Regions from separate parts of the Homo sapiens genome. Here all the other regions are linked to region 3. Evidence: promoter capture Hi-C in 16 types of primary human blood cells and fetal thymus (Javierre and others, 2016). All regions are on one chromosome and are shown on one strand. Each heading gives the region's core, a stretch centred on a gene start or on the middle of the fragment in contact. The rest is flanking DNA. Distances are from core to core; before and after follow the strand shown. Region 1 holds the start of TMEM177 (transmembrane protein 177). Region 2 holds the start of C2orf76 (chromosome 2 open reading frame 76). Region 3 holds the start of CCDC93 (CCC complex scaffolding subunit CCDC93).

Evidence for each region. The method cuts DNA at HindIII sites, captures the fragments that hold promoters and counts their contacts. A CHiCAGO score of 5 or more calls a contact.
Region 1: a contact is called between the fragment with the promoter of TMEM177 here and the fragment with the promoter of CCDC93 in region 3, in 1 of 17 cell types (non-activated CD4 T cells). The highest score is 5.5, in non-activated CD4 T cells.
Region 2: a contact is called between the fragment with the promoter of C2orf76 here and the fragment with the promoter of CCDC93 in region 3, in 2 of 17 cell types (non-activated CD4 T cells and total CD4 T cells). The highest score is 7.7, in non-activated CD4 T cells.

Annotation. Positions count from the first base shown.
Region 1 is chr2:119,676,851-119,681,268 of GRCh38, reverse strand. TMEM177 (transmembrane protein 177) reads right to left here and starts at 2,068. Exons shown (of 2, transcript NM_030577.3): 1 at 1,993-2,068; 2 at 1-437. The coding sequence starts at 415. RefSeq lists a silencer at 1,992-2,221. The HindIII fragment of the contact is 6,463 bases long and covers 1-4,418 here.
Region 2 is chr2:119,364,083-119,368,607 of GRCh38, reverse strand. It overlaps C2orf76 (chromosome 2 open reading frame 76), which reads left to right and starts at 1,774. Exons shown (of 6, transcript NM_001322331.2): 1 at 1,774-1,818. It overlaps DBI (diazepam binding inhibitor, acyl-CoA binding protein), which reads right to left and starts at 1,631. Exons shown (of 4, transcript NM_001079862.4): 1 at 1,548-1,631; 2 at 303-420. The coding sequence starts at 1,556. RefSeq lists enhancers at 511-710, 1,241-1,570, 1,941-2,200 and a silencer at 1,671-1,820. The HindIII fragment of the contact is 12,909 bases long and covers 1-4,525 here.
Region 3 is chr2:118,010,906-118,015,391 of GRCh38, reverse strand. CCDC93 (CCC complex scaffolding subunit CCDC93) reads left to right here and starts at 1,322. Exons shown (of 24, transcript NM_019044.5): 1 at 1,322-1,438. The coding sequence starts at 1,397. RefSeq lists silencers at 1,115-1,314, 1,785-1,834. The HindIII fragment of the contact is 9,438 bases long and covers 1-4,486 here.

The DNA.
Region 1 (4,418 bases), core at 819-3,318, 1.7 Mb before region 3:
GCCGGGCGCCTGCTGGGCTCCGCCAGTCCACTGTATGCCCATGTATGACCACGGGATGGTTAGTGTTGATCACTAGGTCTCCCAAGAAACTGGCAGGGATGCCCACCACAGCCCCAGCAGGGAGTCTTGGGAAGCCTGCACTCACAGGTTGGAAGGTGAAGGTGGTGAAGGGCTTGTAGCAATGGCCTGAAGGAACACCTATGTCCTGTAGCACCTCTTGGAAGAGGCTCTGCAGCTGTGGAGGGAGCGGAGCTGGCTGGCCCTGAGGCCAGTACTGGTAGAGCCATTGGACCACGGGATCCGGGAAGAGGTGGTACGAGATTGGAACTCCAAACAGGCCTGCACAGGAACCCACCAAGAGGCCTGTCCTGTGTCTCTGCACAAATGCTGCGGTCCGCCACAGGGGACCTGCCATGAGTGTAGTCACTGCGGACAATCTGGGCCAAGAAAAAGAGAAGTCAGCCAGTTTCCCTGGGTCAGCCTGCAGACTGAACATCCTCCAGGGTCCACACCACCTTTTTAAACCAAAGTAACACAGCATAGTGGTGAAGAGTGTGGGCTCTAGAGCCAGAGTGCCTGTGTTCAAATCCCAGCTCCGTCTCTGTGCGTCAATTTCCCCATGTGCCAAACAGGTGTGTCGTAATGGCCCACCTCTAGGGTGGCGGTGATGAGCACATGAATAAACATACATAAAACATTTAGTGTCTGGCACAGCAGCAGATATTCCTTATAATAATGGCTGTAATGACTTTTATTCCCATCGCTGGGCACGGCACTCCAACTGCCTCATTCCACTCATCCCATGGTAAAGCCCTATGATTACTAATTTATAAGGAAAAACGTGTTCAATTTATTGAGTGCTTACTATATGCTAGACTCAGTTCTGAGCACTCTTACCGATTGAACCCTCACAACCCCATGACCTAATTACTACAGCTAACCCTATTTCAAAGCTGTGAAAACTTAAATGGCCAAAATCCTAAGCTAGTGAAGTGACAGTGTTATGGGCTGCACTGTGTCTCCTCCTCCTCCCCAGTTCATATATTTAAGTCCTAACCCCCAGTACCTCAGACTGTGGCTGTATTTGGAGACAGGGTCTTTAAGGAGATAATTAAGATAAAATGAGGCCATCAGTATGGATCCTAATCCAATTTGACTGGTGTACTTATAAGAAGAGATTAGGATGCAAACAGGCACAGCAGGAAGATCATGTGAGGATCCAGGGAAAAGGCTACCACCTACAAGCCAAGAAGGGAGGTCTCAGAAGACACCAACCCTGTTAACACCCTGGTCTTGAACTTCCAGCCTCCATAACTCCCAGAGGACAAATTTCTGCTGGTTGGGCCACCCAGTCTCCGGTACTTCGGCATGGCAGCTCTAGCAAGCTAACACAGGCATAGTCAGGTGTCCACAGCAAACTTTTTGTTTTAGAAAACTTGTTATGCCAAATTACAAGCATATACCAAAGTAGACAAAATAGTACATCCATCAACTTCAATCCCATCAACTCATGGCCAATCTTGTTTGATTTCTCTTTCCACCACACTTCCGTCCAACTGGTTTATTTTGAAACATCCCCGGGCATCCTATCACTTCATCCGTGAATACGTCAGTAAAAATTCACAATTATTTCACTTTGATTGAAACTTACTGTATTCCTGTCCGTGAAAAGTGCTTAATGAGCAACGAATGAGTTGCCGCAAACAAAAACGCAGGGTACCGCTTGGCCTATCTTAATCAAGAACTCCTATAAGAATCATTATCATTCGGGCTTTTTTTTTTTCCCAATGCGGAAAGTGAGGCTAAGAAAGGAAAGGTCTGGACCAAAGTCCAACGTCCCTAGGGCCATCGCGCTGCGGGGTGGGCCTAGAACACAGTACCATGCAGCCCGCCGGTGGCTGGGGGAGGAGGGGCTGCAGGAGCCCCGCAGAGGGGTCCTCGCTACGCTTCCACTCTGGGCCCCTAGGCTACTCCGCAGTCTGAACGCGTTACCGGGTCGCATCAGGCCGGAGAAGGGTCCCTCCCGCTCGTCCGTGCGCTCACCTCCGCCGCCGCTCGGAACGCCTACATGTGCGCGCGGCAGGGCGGCCGCAAAGCACGCCGGCCGGGGATCTGGGGGCGGGGACTTCGGGAGGCGGAGCTCGCCGGCCCCGGATCTTGGGATGGGGACTTCAGGGGGCGGAGCTCGCCGGCCGGAGATCTCGGGGCGAGGATTTCAGGGAGGGGAGCTCGCTCGACGGGTCTGGGGGCGGGACTCTTGGGGGTGTGGCTGGGGGGGCCTCAAGGGGATGTCCGTGGGGGGCTCCGGCCGCCGCAGAGGCTCCTTCTCTAACTGTGCACCTTGGGGTGGGTCCGCTAGCACTTCCTCCTCTGCGTTGAAATGCGTCTTTGATTAATACAAAAATTAGCTGGGCGTGGTGGCGCACGCCTGTAGTCCCCAGCTGCTGGGGAGGCTGAGGCAGGAGAATCGCTTGAACCTGGGAGGCAGAGGTTGCAGTGAGCCGAGAATACGCCACTGCACTCCAACCTGGGCGACAGAGCGAGACTCCGTCACACACACACACACACACACACACCCCGGTGTCTTTGATCATGCCACACACACACACACACACACCCCGGTGTCTTTGATCATGCCACACACACACACACACACACACATACCCTGGTGTCTTTGATCATGACACACACACACACACACACCCACCCCGGTGTCTTTGATCATCACACACACACACACACACACACACACACATCCCGGTGTCTTTGATCATGCCGTTGAACCCCCGAAGGAACGGCAGCCCCGCGTGGGTCACCAGGCGGCCTATGGCAGGGCCCCCATCAGAACCCATGCCCATCTGACTGGCCGGCCCGTGTACTTCTCCGTCTGGAAGCGCTCACCCTTGGCGGGGAGCTCTGAGCTTTATGTTTATTACCATGTTCGCTGCCCCCCAAGCTCCTCCCAGGTGCTTCACACTGTACAGTCCACAGAGCAGCGTGCCATCTGTCATTTCTCCTTTCCAGCTGCTCTGTGAGGTAGATGAGGGATCATCTAATCTGTGCACCAAATCCAGCTCTCCACCTGCTTTTGTAAATAAAGTTTTCTTGGAACACAGCCATGCCCAATCCTTTACAGAGGGTGAAAACAGACTGCCTAGGGTTAAAGCCGGGCTCCACCCCTTACTAGCTGTGTGATAAAATGAGTTGGTGTATATGTAACCTGTGCCTCACGGTTTGTGCCGCCTAGCCATTAGCTATTATTATTAAAGTCTGTTCTGTTTCTGAGCCCCCCCCCCCAATTTTGGCTGCTCAGTTGTTTGTATGTAAATAGTGCAATGTGACCTCAGCCAAAGCCAGAATGTGGGACATTCTACAGGGCAAATGACGTGGTTTATCCAACAAATCAATGGCATAAACAGGGAAGGAGGGGGACTCAAAAGAAAAGAGACTTGAGAGTCATTGCAGTTAAATGCAATATGTGACTTTTATTGGGATCCTGAACCAAATAAACTAACTGTAAAAAAGACACCTTGGGCTGGGCGCGGTGGCTTACGCCTGTAATCCTGGCACTTTGGGAGGCCAAGGAGGGCAGATCACCTGAGGTCAGGAGTTCAAGACCAGCCTGGCCAACATGGTGAAACTCCGTCTCTACTAAAATACAAAAATTAGCCAGGCATGGTGGCACACGCCTATAATCCTAGCTATTCAGGAGGCTGAGACGGGAGAATCGCTAAAACCTGGGAGATGGTGGTTGCAGTAAGCCGAGATTGTGCCACTGCACTCCAGCCTGGGTGGCTAAGTGAGACTCTGTCTCAAACAAACAAAGGAACAAACAAACAAACAAAAGGCATCTTGGAGAAATTTGAATTTGGATTTGAATATTAGATGATATTAATGAATTATTGCTTATTTCATCAGATGGGATGATGACATGGAGTTTATATAAACCAAAAAATTCTTACTAGAGATGCATACTGAAGTGTTTACAGGTGAAATGACACAATGTCTACTATTTGATTCAAAATATTCCAACGAAACCAAATCCAAACAACAACAACAACAAAAAAACAGGGGCACAGATGAAACAACATTGACAAAGTGTTAGTTATTGTGAAGCTGCATGACAGGTTCAGGGATCTTCATCATACCATGCTCTACTTTTGTGTGTGTTTGGAAATTTCCATAATAAAAAGTTTAAAAAAATTTTTTAAAGTAGGCTGGCCAGTTGGACTCCATCAAAATGAAAAACTTTTGTGCATGAAAAATACTATCAAGAAAAGTGGAAAGACAATCCACAATAGGAGAAAATATTTACAAATCATAGATCTGATAAGGGTGTAGTATCCAGAATATATAAAGAACTCTTAGCAACTCAACAAGCCAATTAATAAATGGGCAAATGACTTGAGTAGACATTT
Region 2 (4,525 bases), core at 525-3,024, 1.4 Mb before region 3:
CTACTGAGCTGAGAGCCTTCAGCAAGTCTTTTCCAAGCTGCAGCCTTTGCTTCTTCCCTAGTAGAGAGTAGCTGCTGGTGATAACCAGTAAAGACCTTCTAAAACCAGGATTTGAATTCTGTTACTACTGGAGACACTGAGAATCCGGAACATGGTCTTTTCCACCTCAGGAACCATCACCATACCCCACCTGAAGAGTAGGGCCTCAGGCAGTTTGAGAGTGAAGTTCCCAGGGACTTCCAGTCTGAGCTGCTGAGCCTGCTTTGATGAGCAGATGCCCTTCCAACCCCCGCTCTGCATACCTGTATTTATGTCGCCCACAGTTGCTTGTTTGTAGTGGCCATAGATGAACAGCATCTCCTCATCCGATGGCTTGGTCTTAAGGTGCCTAACCTCCTCTGCAGCTTTCTCAAACTCAGCCTAAATGGAAGGGAGAGGAGAGGATTGAGGGCCTCCTCTGGGTGGGAGAGGGTAAGAATCCTACTGTGGCCTGATGACAGCCCAGTTACGGGGATGGAGAGGTGGGAAAGGTGGCACCCTTCGGGCAATGCAGCCCCTGAAGTGTGTCTGCCCCTCCCTGCCCCAACAGGGCAGCTAGAAAGATTCAGCAACACAAGAAGGGGAAGCCCCTCCAGTTCACTCATTCAATCGAAAACCATATATCCAGAGCTCTCACAAACGCAGGCATCAGGTCTGGAAATACAGCAGTGAAGAGGGCAGGCCAAGCCTTCGCCCCCAGTGGGGGTCCCCTCTGCGGGAGAAGCAGCGCGGCCAACTGCCTGGCCACCACCGGGCCAGGCACTAGGGAGTGGCCGGGGCTGCAGCGAAGCCCTGGCCTGAGGACAGACGGGGCACAGTATGCTGGAAACAGCTGAAAGGGGACAGGGCATGAGTGCCGCGGTGTCAGCGCCGGAGCCCGTTGGTCCCCTCCCTCCCCCTGGGGCCCGCGCGTTCAACACCGACCTCTGTCCCAGTGCCCGGATTGGCAGAGGCAGGCGGGAGGAGCCAGAGGTCGCCCCACATAGCTCGGTCTCAGACAAGGGTCTACACTGGAGAGAAGGGAGGGGCCCCTGGGTCACCTCTCCCCGGGCCGCGATTCTCCTCGTCCCGCACTCTGAGCAGCCGGCCCCGTACTTCCCCTGACCTCCAAGCTCTCGGCCACGGACTCCTCGCTTCCCCACTCCGCCGCGACGTCCTGCCCTGTGCTTCGGGATGGGGACTGAGTCTCCTCGCTCCTCCAATCCGTGCAACCCCTTCCCCCATCTCTCCATCAAGCACCCTCGACTCCCACCCCTCTCCCGCTACACAGCGAAGTCCACCCCATGGGCAACTTTCCGGCAGTTGCGGGGTGGGCAGCAGATTTAGAAATCCCCAAACGGAAAATCCCGCTCACAAGGCTCTGTCCAACGAATCAGGGCTAGGCATGGGCCCATGAGCAAGTGAGGGGCACGGAAGGAAAGAGCCCGAGAGCTTCTGGCAGCCGGCTGAGCCCCCAACGGGCCTCCCGCCCGCTGCACCTTCGCAGCCTGGCTGTGCACGCGCTGTACCTGAGACATCCTGGCCGACTTGCAAGAACTCCAGGGAGACAGCGGAGGAGGCGAGGACCAGGAAGCGATCGCCCAGATTGCACTGGCAAGCGCCTTTAGAGGCGCGGTCCACTCGCCCCAACCCTGCTCGGGCGAGCACCGGAAAGCCAATCAGAAGCCAGCTATGCGCTAGGGGCGTGCCCAGCCCCCGCCGCGGCGCTAGCCCCGCCCGAGCCCACGTGGGACCGCTTGCGCAAACGCCGGGAGTAGCCGAAGGGGACGCCGGGAACAGGTGGGGACAACGGAAGTAGGGTGCTTAGTTTTGCTGCCGGGAGTTGGTCGAGAGTTGGGTTCAGTCCTGGCCCGTTGTGGGGACGGCACGCGGGGGAAGGGGAGGGGACGGAGACCGAAGAACGGAGGTCCTTATGTTTCTTTTCTTTCCTTAAATCTTGCCCGGCCTGAAGAGGCCGGAAGTTGCATCTCTGGACAAGTAAACTCTGAGACCTGGGAATGGCGGGCGGGACCCGCTCCTCCCTTGGGGTCTAGAGGAGACCCCCGGAGATGGTCCCTGATGAGCAGCGTGATGGTGGAAAGCTGGACTGGTCTCCCGAAAGGCGAAGCCGAGGCTTCTTCCTCTGAACTTTTGGCACGTTCTTTGACTTGCTTGTGGCCGTAGTGTCAGGCCTGTATTGCACATTTATGTCTGTGGTGCATTTCTCCATCTGGTGCGTTAAAGGCAGGGACGGTGTCTTATTTGTCTTGATTTAACAAACTTGGACGGGACGAAGTGCTCAGCAAATATTTGTTAAATGAATGGCTGTTTATTGAACTCCTGTTGGGTAACTTGCACTGTTCTAGACCTTGGCAGACAGCAGTGAACAAAGCGGGTGAATCCCTGCAATCTTGGAACTTACAAGTAGGGACAGTAGTTTATACAATAAGTTAAATATAGAGTACTTTAGGGGCTTAGAGAGTTGGAAGTTTATAGTTTTAAATGGAGGAGGGGGAGTATTGAGGGAAGGTGACATTTGAGAAAGTTCCTCAAGGAGGGGAGGGAAGATTCCAAGCAGAGAACAAGTGTAAAGGCGTGGGCAAGGAACCAGGGGAAGAGTAGAAAGATGAGGCTGGAGAGTTTTGGCGGTGGCAGACTGGCTAGGTGATGCAGAAGTTGGCCATCACAGGGACTTTGACTGTCATGCTGAGTGAGATGGGAAATCGTAAAAGGGTTTGAAAAGAGGATGAGGAGACGGAGGGGAACGTCTTTGCGAGATTGTTACACAGCCTAATCTCCATGGGAACTGAAAGGAGCAGCACAGGTGTCTGGAAGTGTTTTAGGATCGATGTTTAAGAAGCTAAAGGAAGACTTCTCTGGCAGTGGTTGCAAAGGAGCTGGGTGAAGAGAGGGAAATGATGGAAAATTCTCTGGAGATCATTAAAAAAGCAAAGTCATTCCTCTCTAATTCATAATTTGTGGCAAGAGGGCTGGACTACAAATCTCTGCCCTGCCTACACCTTCCCCCTCCCCAGGGAAGGTAGACGCTTTCAGACTTAACTTGCTAACTTAATGTAGGTCACGTTTTATGGAATGTTTGGGAAGAAATGAAGATGCAATAGGGAACAAATCTAGGGTTTTCAGTCTGAGCATAATTTTGTTTGAGAAAGGAAAACCAAACAAATTAACAAAAATCTTGGAGTTAAATATGGGGAAAGTACACTGAAGTGTAAGAAATGCAGGTTTCTTCGAAAATCACAATTCAGAGCTGCTTTTTCCATTTGAGGCCTGGATTTGTTTTTGCTCTACTTGGTGCTTACAGCTTCCTTGATGGAAACTCAGATTATTGCTTGTGTGGGCCAGATTTGCAGTCAAATACATCTCCTAGTCAGCAGGTTTTAAGTTAGGGTATTGTTGAGATTAGGTACTTTGAGAATGCAGTTATCACTTCTCAAAGATCAGTTGCTTTTAGTTTTTTAGTTTTTGTTTTTTAATTATTTTCGCGTGTGATGTGGTCTCACTCTTTTACCTAGGCTGTAGTTCAGTGGCACAATCTCAGCTCTCTGCAGCCTTGAACTCCAGGCCTCAAGCGATCCTCCCACCTTAGCCTCCCGAGTAGCTGGAAATGTGGGCACAACCACCATGCCTGGCTAATTTTTTTATTTTTATTTTTATTTTTTGTAGAGATGGGGTCTTGCTATGTTGTTGGTCTTGATCTCCTGGGCTCAAGGGATTCTCCCACTTTGGCCTCCTAACGTGGTGGGAGTACAGGTGTGAGCCACTGCGCCTGGCCTTGATTGAATATTGCTTTTCATAATTCTGAGAATGCAAGATCCTCAGCTCTGTTTATGTCCTTGTTAGCCACCGTAACATGTTGTAATTATTTTATTTACAATTATTTTAATTTTAATTTACTTTTCTACTGTCTAACCCTCTGCCTCTGCCTCCCACCAAACACACATAAGCCAGGAGGAGATGGGGTCATTGTGTATCAGTCACTGCTGAATCTCCAAGTGTCTGGCACTTCTTAGGCACTCAACAAATAGTTGTTGAATGAATAAAGTGTTTTTCTCTCTATGAAGATTTATTCTGTCTGATTAACTGAACTTGGAAACCATCTAAATTTGTTAGAACTGAATGTAAAACTATGGGGTTGAGTAAAGTAGATGAACTCTGGTGCAAGGACCATGTAATCTCTTTGTACCACTCCCAGCTTTGGAAGCAGAGCACCTGGAGATGAGAAACCTGACCAGCCAACTTGTCAGCCAAATTGACCCTGCCAATCAATAGAGAGGCCATTGTCATTGTTGTAGTTTGCCTTCACATCTGGGAATACCACTTTTTATTTATTATTTATTTATATTTTTTTCATAGAAACCACTCTTGTCTGCCACAGGCTTCACTCGGTGGGTCTCAGAATAAAGCCAGATGGGCAAGATCTCTCTCTCTTTCTCTCTTCTCTCTCCTCTCTCCTCTCCCTCTCTCTCTGCCCTACCTCTCTCTCCCT
Region 3 (4,486 bases), core at 73-2,572:
AAAATAAAATAGAAAACATCATATATATATACACGTATATATATACACACATATATACACGTATATATATATACACACATATATATATATACACGTATATATATATAGTTTTTAGACAGGGTCTTGCTCTGTCACCCAAGCAGGAGTGCAGTGGTGTTATCATAGCTCACTGCAACCTCAACCTTCCTGGCTCAAGCAATTCTCCCACCTCAGCCTACCGGCTAGCTGGGACCACTGGCACCGGGCTAATTTTCTTATTTTTTGTAGAGATGGAGGTCTCACTATGTTGCCCAGGTTGGTCTCCAACTCCTAGGTTCAAGTGATACTCCCGCCTCGACCCCCAAAGTGCTGGGATTACAGGCATGTGCCACCGCGCCTGCCTACTCTTTTAAAGACGCTAGGGATGCAAAGAAGAGACGAAAGCAAACACGAAACCTTTTTGATCTCAAGGAACTAAAGGTCTGAGTCTGACACTTCCCATCCCACACACATATACAGAGGGAAGGATCTCTTCTCCAGCAAAAGTTTTCACGAAAGTCATCTCTTTCCTCATTGCTTAAAAGAAACAAAAAGCCAAGAAGCCGTTATGGAGCGGGTGTGGGGGCCTGTGACCTTTTGTCTAGTTGCCATCCTCCGGGACCAACAAGGGGTACATCAAATAAGGGACGCGGCGGCTCAAATGACATGAACATAGGAGTCCGCATTCTCTGAGATGTCATTCCTCCAGGAAGACCCAGGAACCGTGAATAGGGCGGGGTGGTGGGCAATATCTGAAGCGAGGTTTCCTGGGAACGCGATGCCACTGGCCAGGACGCTGGAGAGGGCAGCGGGCTTGAAGAATCCCTTCTCAAGGGGTCCGTTCCTGGGTCGTATATGGAGAAGTCTGTCCAAGCGTGTGTCTGTAAGGTCTAGAGCCGGGCGTGCATTCAGAATCCTCAAGCTCATCTGTACTTGGACTCTGACCCTGAAGCGAGGCGGTTTCCGAAGTCTGATTCACCGAGGGGACAGGACCTATTTGGGGCATCCGATGGCAGCGAGAAGAGAAGGGAGCCGAAATGCAAAATATTCTCAAGATGCAGGAGGAACCCCTCTCAAAGAGCGCCACGGAGAAAACTTCAGAGTACGGGCGCGATGATCCAGCACAACGCCAGGACCTGCAGCCCAGCCCACCTCTCCCCGGGCTGCTGTGGCGCAGGCGCAGTGGCGCCGCGCTCCGGCCCCAGCGCGCATGCTCTGCCCGGCTGCGGCGCTTCGGGCAGGCGGCGGCGGCGGCGGCGGCGGCGGCAGAGGGAGTTTCCGCTTTGTACTCCACCCCGGTAGCAGCTCCGCGGCAGGGACAGCTTCCTCCGGACGCTTGGCGGGCTTCGCTCTCGCCTTACGACAGCCCGGTCGGATCATGGGGTTGCCCAGGGGGCCGGAGGGCCAGGGTCTCCCGGAGGTAAGAACGCCTCCTCCTTCCCTGACACGTCGGGGTTCCTGAAGAGAGGGCCGAGCCGCGGGGCGGCGGGCTGAGCGGGCCCTGGGTGCGTTAGGGGCGCCCCGCCCCCTTCCTCAGGCGTATCCACCTCAGGGAAGCGCCGACCCTCTTCTTGGAGGCGGGGAGCAGGTACCCCTGCATGGGCAGGGGGCGGCGGGCGGGTGAGGACAAACTTAAGCCGCTCCCGGGTCTCTTGGGGCGCAGGTGGCCTTCCTAGCCCGACACCTGCTCTGACGCAGCCCCACGCGCCGCGGGGTCCTGGGCTCCCACCTTTCTCCCTGTCCGGGACGGGCTCCCCCACCCCGCGCCGCAGGGCTAGCCCCGAGGGCCGAGGCTGCTGGGCGCTGGAGTCACGAGACCGCTCTCCGAGGCGGTTCGGGCTCGGGTGGTGACCTTGGGACGTCTACCGCCACCCCGCAGAGTCCCGGCGGCCCGCCCCACCCGCCTTGCTGTCGGGAGGGAATGCCACCCTCCTTGCGTGGACCCGGGCCGGGGCGGCGGGAGGAAGTTTGGGAGACTTGCGCGCACCAGGGAGGTGTCCCGCTGGGTCAGCGCGCCGGGGCGTTCGGGGTGGGACGCACTCCAGGGGTGCTGTGTGGCGGGGGACCCGGCTCTGGGCGGAAAGGCTGCGGCTTCTCCAGAAGAGGGCGGGGTTCTTTTCCAAAGGTGTTTGTTAAGTACTCACTTAGTGCTAGGGAGGGGGTCATGAGTGGTTTGCGGATTTCCACGTTTGCTGGGAATACAGGGAAAGTGTATTCATTTTCTTTTGGCTGCAAATACCACTTAGCATCTCATAGGTAGTTTGCATCTGTCGTCCCTTTCAGTTGATTTTACTCAAAGGCTAGTCTAGTTTACTGGATTCTGGAGAGAAATGGAAGCCACGCCGCACCTCTGCCTTTTTCCTAAGGTTCTGGAGCAGGCATTGGGCAGGGTGACTGCTTGCTTGACGTGGTGAGTCGTCCCTTCACACTTACCTGCCAGTGACCAATGTTACTCCTCTGCATTCCTCCCAAATCCTCAGTTCTTTCATATCACAAGTATCCACTAATTGAGGGATCACTGTGTTCTGTGTCCAGAAGCTGGGAATATATATAGTCTGAAAGGACAGATTTGTTTGTCAGTGTGTGCTCCCCGAATGCAAGTCCATTTTGTTGTCTTAAGAAAACCTGACAAGCATAATGTTGTCAGAACCCCTGTATTAGGTAAAATCTTACATGCACGTTGCCTGGGATGGGACCCAGGATAGTGAACAATAGGATTTGTACTGTGACATTTGAAGTTTTCTTTTTTGCCACTTCTGTATTCTAGGCTCTCATCAAGTTTTTGCCTGGCCTTTTGCTGTAGACTTCTGTCTGGTCTCCCACGTTCTACTTTAAATCCGTCCAACCCAATATTCCACAGTACTATCAGTGGAGGTCTTTCTGGGGGGAAAATAAATAAATTAATTAATGAAGAGCAACCTGCTGCTGTATGTCCTTCGTTTAAACTTTCACTGACTGCTAAGAGGCCACACTCACCAGGTCAAGCAATAACTTATCATCATTTAGTTCAGAAGCTAGTAAATATAAATATGGATAGTCTGTGTTATTAGGATGTCACTAGACCAGTTAATTCATTAAATTCATTCTTTTTTTTTTTTTTGAGACAGAGTCTCACTCTGTCACCGAGGCTGGAGTGCAATGGCGTGAGCTCGGTTCATTGCAACCTCTGCCTCCCAGGTTCAAGCAATTCTTATGCCTCAGGCTTCCCAGTAGCTGGGATTGCAGATGTGAGCCACTGCCCTGCCCGAATTCATTCTTTTTAACCCTTTACAAAGATAGCTAGACTTGGCCTGCCTTCCAGCTTACAACAACTATAGTGGACGGAAATTGAAAGTTTATTGGGCTTTGTGTAAGAGCTCATTGTTGTTTGTCTTTGTCAGAAATTTAGCTTCAACAACTGGATGTATTAACCAGCCTGGTGGATTTTTATTGCTTCAAGAGAGGGTCTTTCATTCCCAGCAGATCAGACAGTGGCCCTTTTCCATTTGATTTCAGTGTTAATCTGCTAAGTGAATTTGGAGTCATACATTCCCATTTAGTGTCTTGTGCCAAAATTACTTCACAAGTTATATTGCAAAAGTAAACTTCTCCATGCTAGGGGTGAGTGGATGGAAGCCTGGGCCCTGCATCTGTGGTGGGGTGGCCAGTGGGTGTCCATTAGATAGGTGTTGAGGCAGTGATGATCCTATTTTTTTTTGGTTTTTTTTGTCTTCTTCTCATGTTTTCATAATAAATGATTGAACAAATGAAGTGTTCCTGTTTTACACCCCAGAAGTTTTAAGAAAGTACTTATATTATCTCATTTTCTTTTTCTGCTGACTTGAACTACAACTACTCTTTAGCTTCTCTTTTCTTAGAGTGTTTTCACTTGTAGACGTTTCTCAACCATCCCAGATTTTTTGCAGAAGGGAGAGAAGGTGTGAATTATTTATATTACTTAAGAAAATTTTTATGTCCACTAGGAACTAGTGAATGCTGATCTTCAGGATCCTTAATGGACTGGACCAGGGTCATTTCAGAGACGGATGTAGCTCAGTGCTGTCACCTCCCCCACGCCACTCCTACTCTATTGCAGGGGATTATCAGTCACTTTAATAATTCTGTATTAACTATATTTTAATATGTATACTCCCTTTCCTGGCAGTTTATACATCAAAATAAACTTTCCATTGTCAGGGATGTGATCACTGAAACATTTTATTAATACATGACTGGTTTAGGTTCACTTACTTTATGTAAGCATTAGTAGATCATTCTTTATTTAATAAGTGTGTCCTTGGAGCTTAATGTTGTTTGGATTCAGAGGAGTAAACCCAAGTATATAATATATAGTCCTCTCGTTAATCAATCAGTAGTCCAGTTGCAAAGACAAGCATGTGTATAACACTAGATATCTCACTTTGAAGAGGTTGATACTTAGTTATATGTACAGTATATAGTTGATACTTAGTTATATGTACAGAAATGC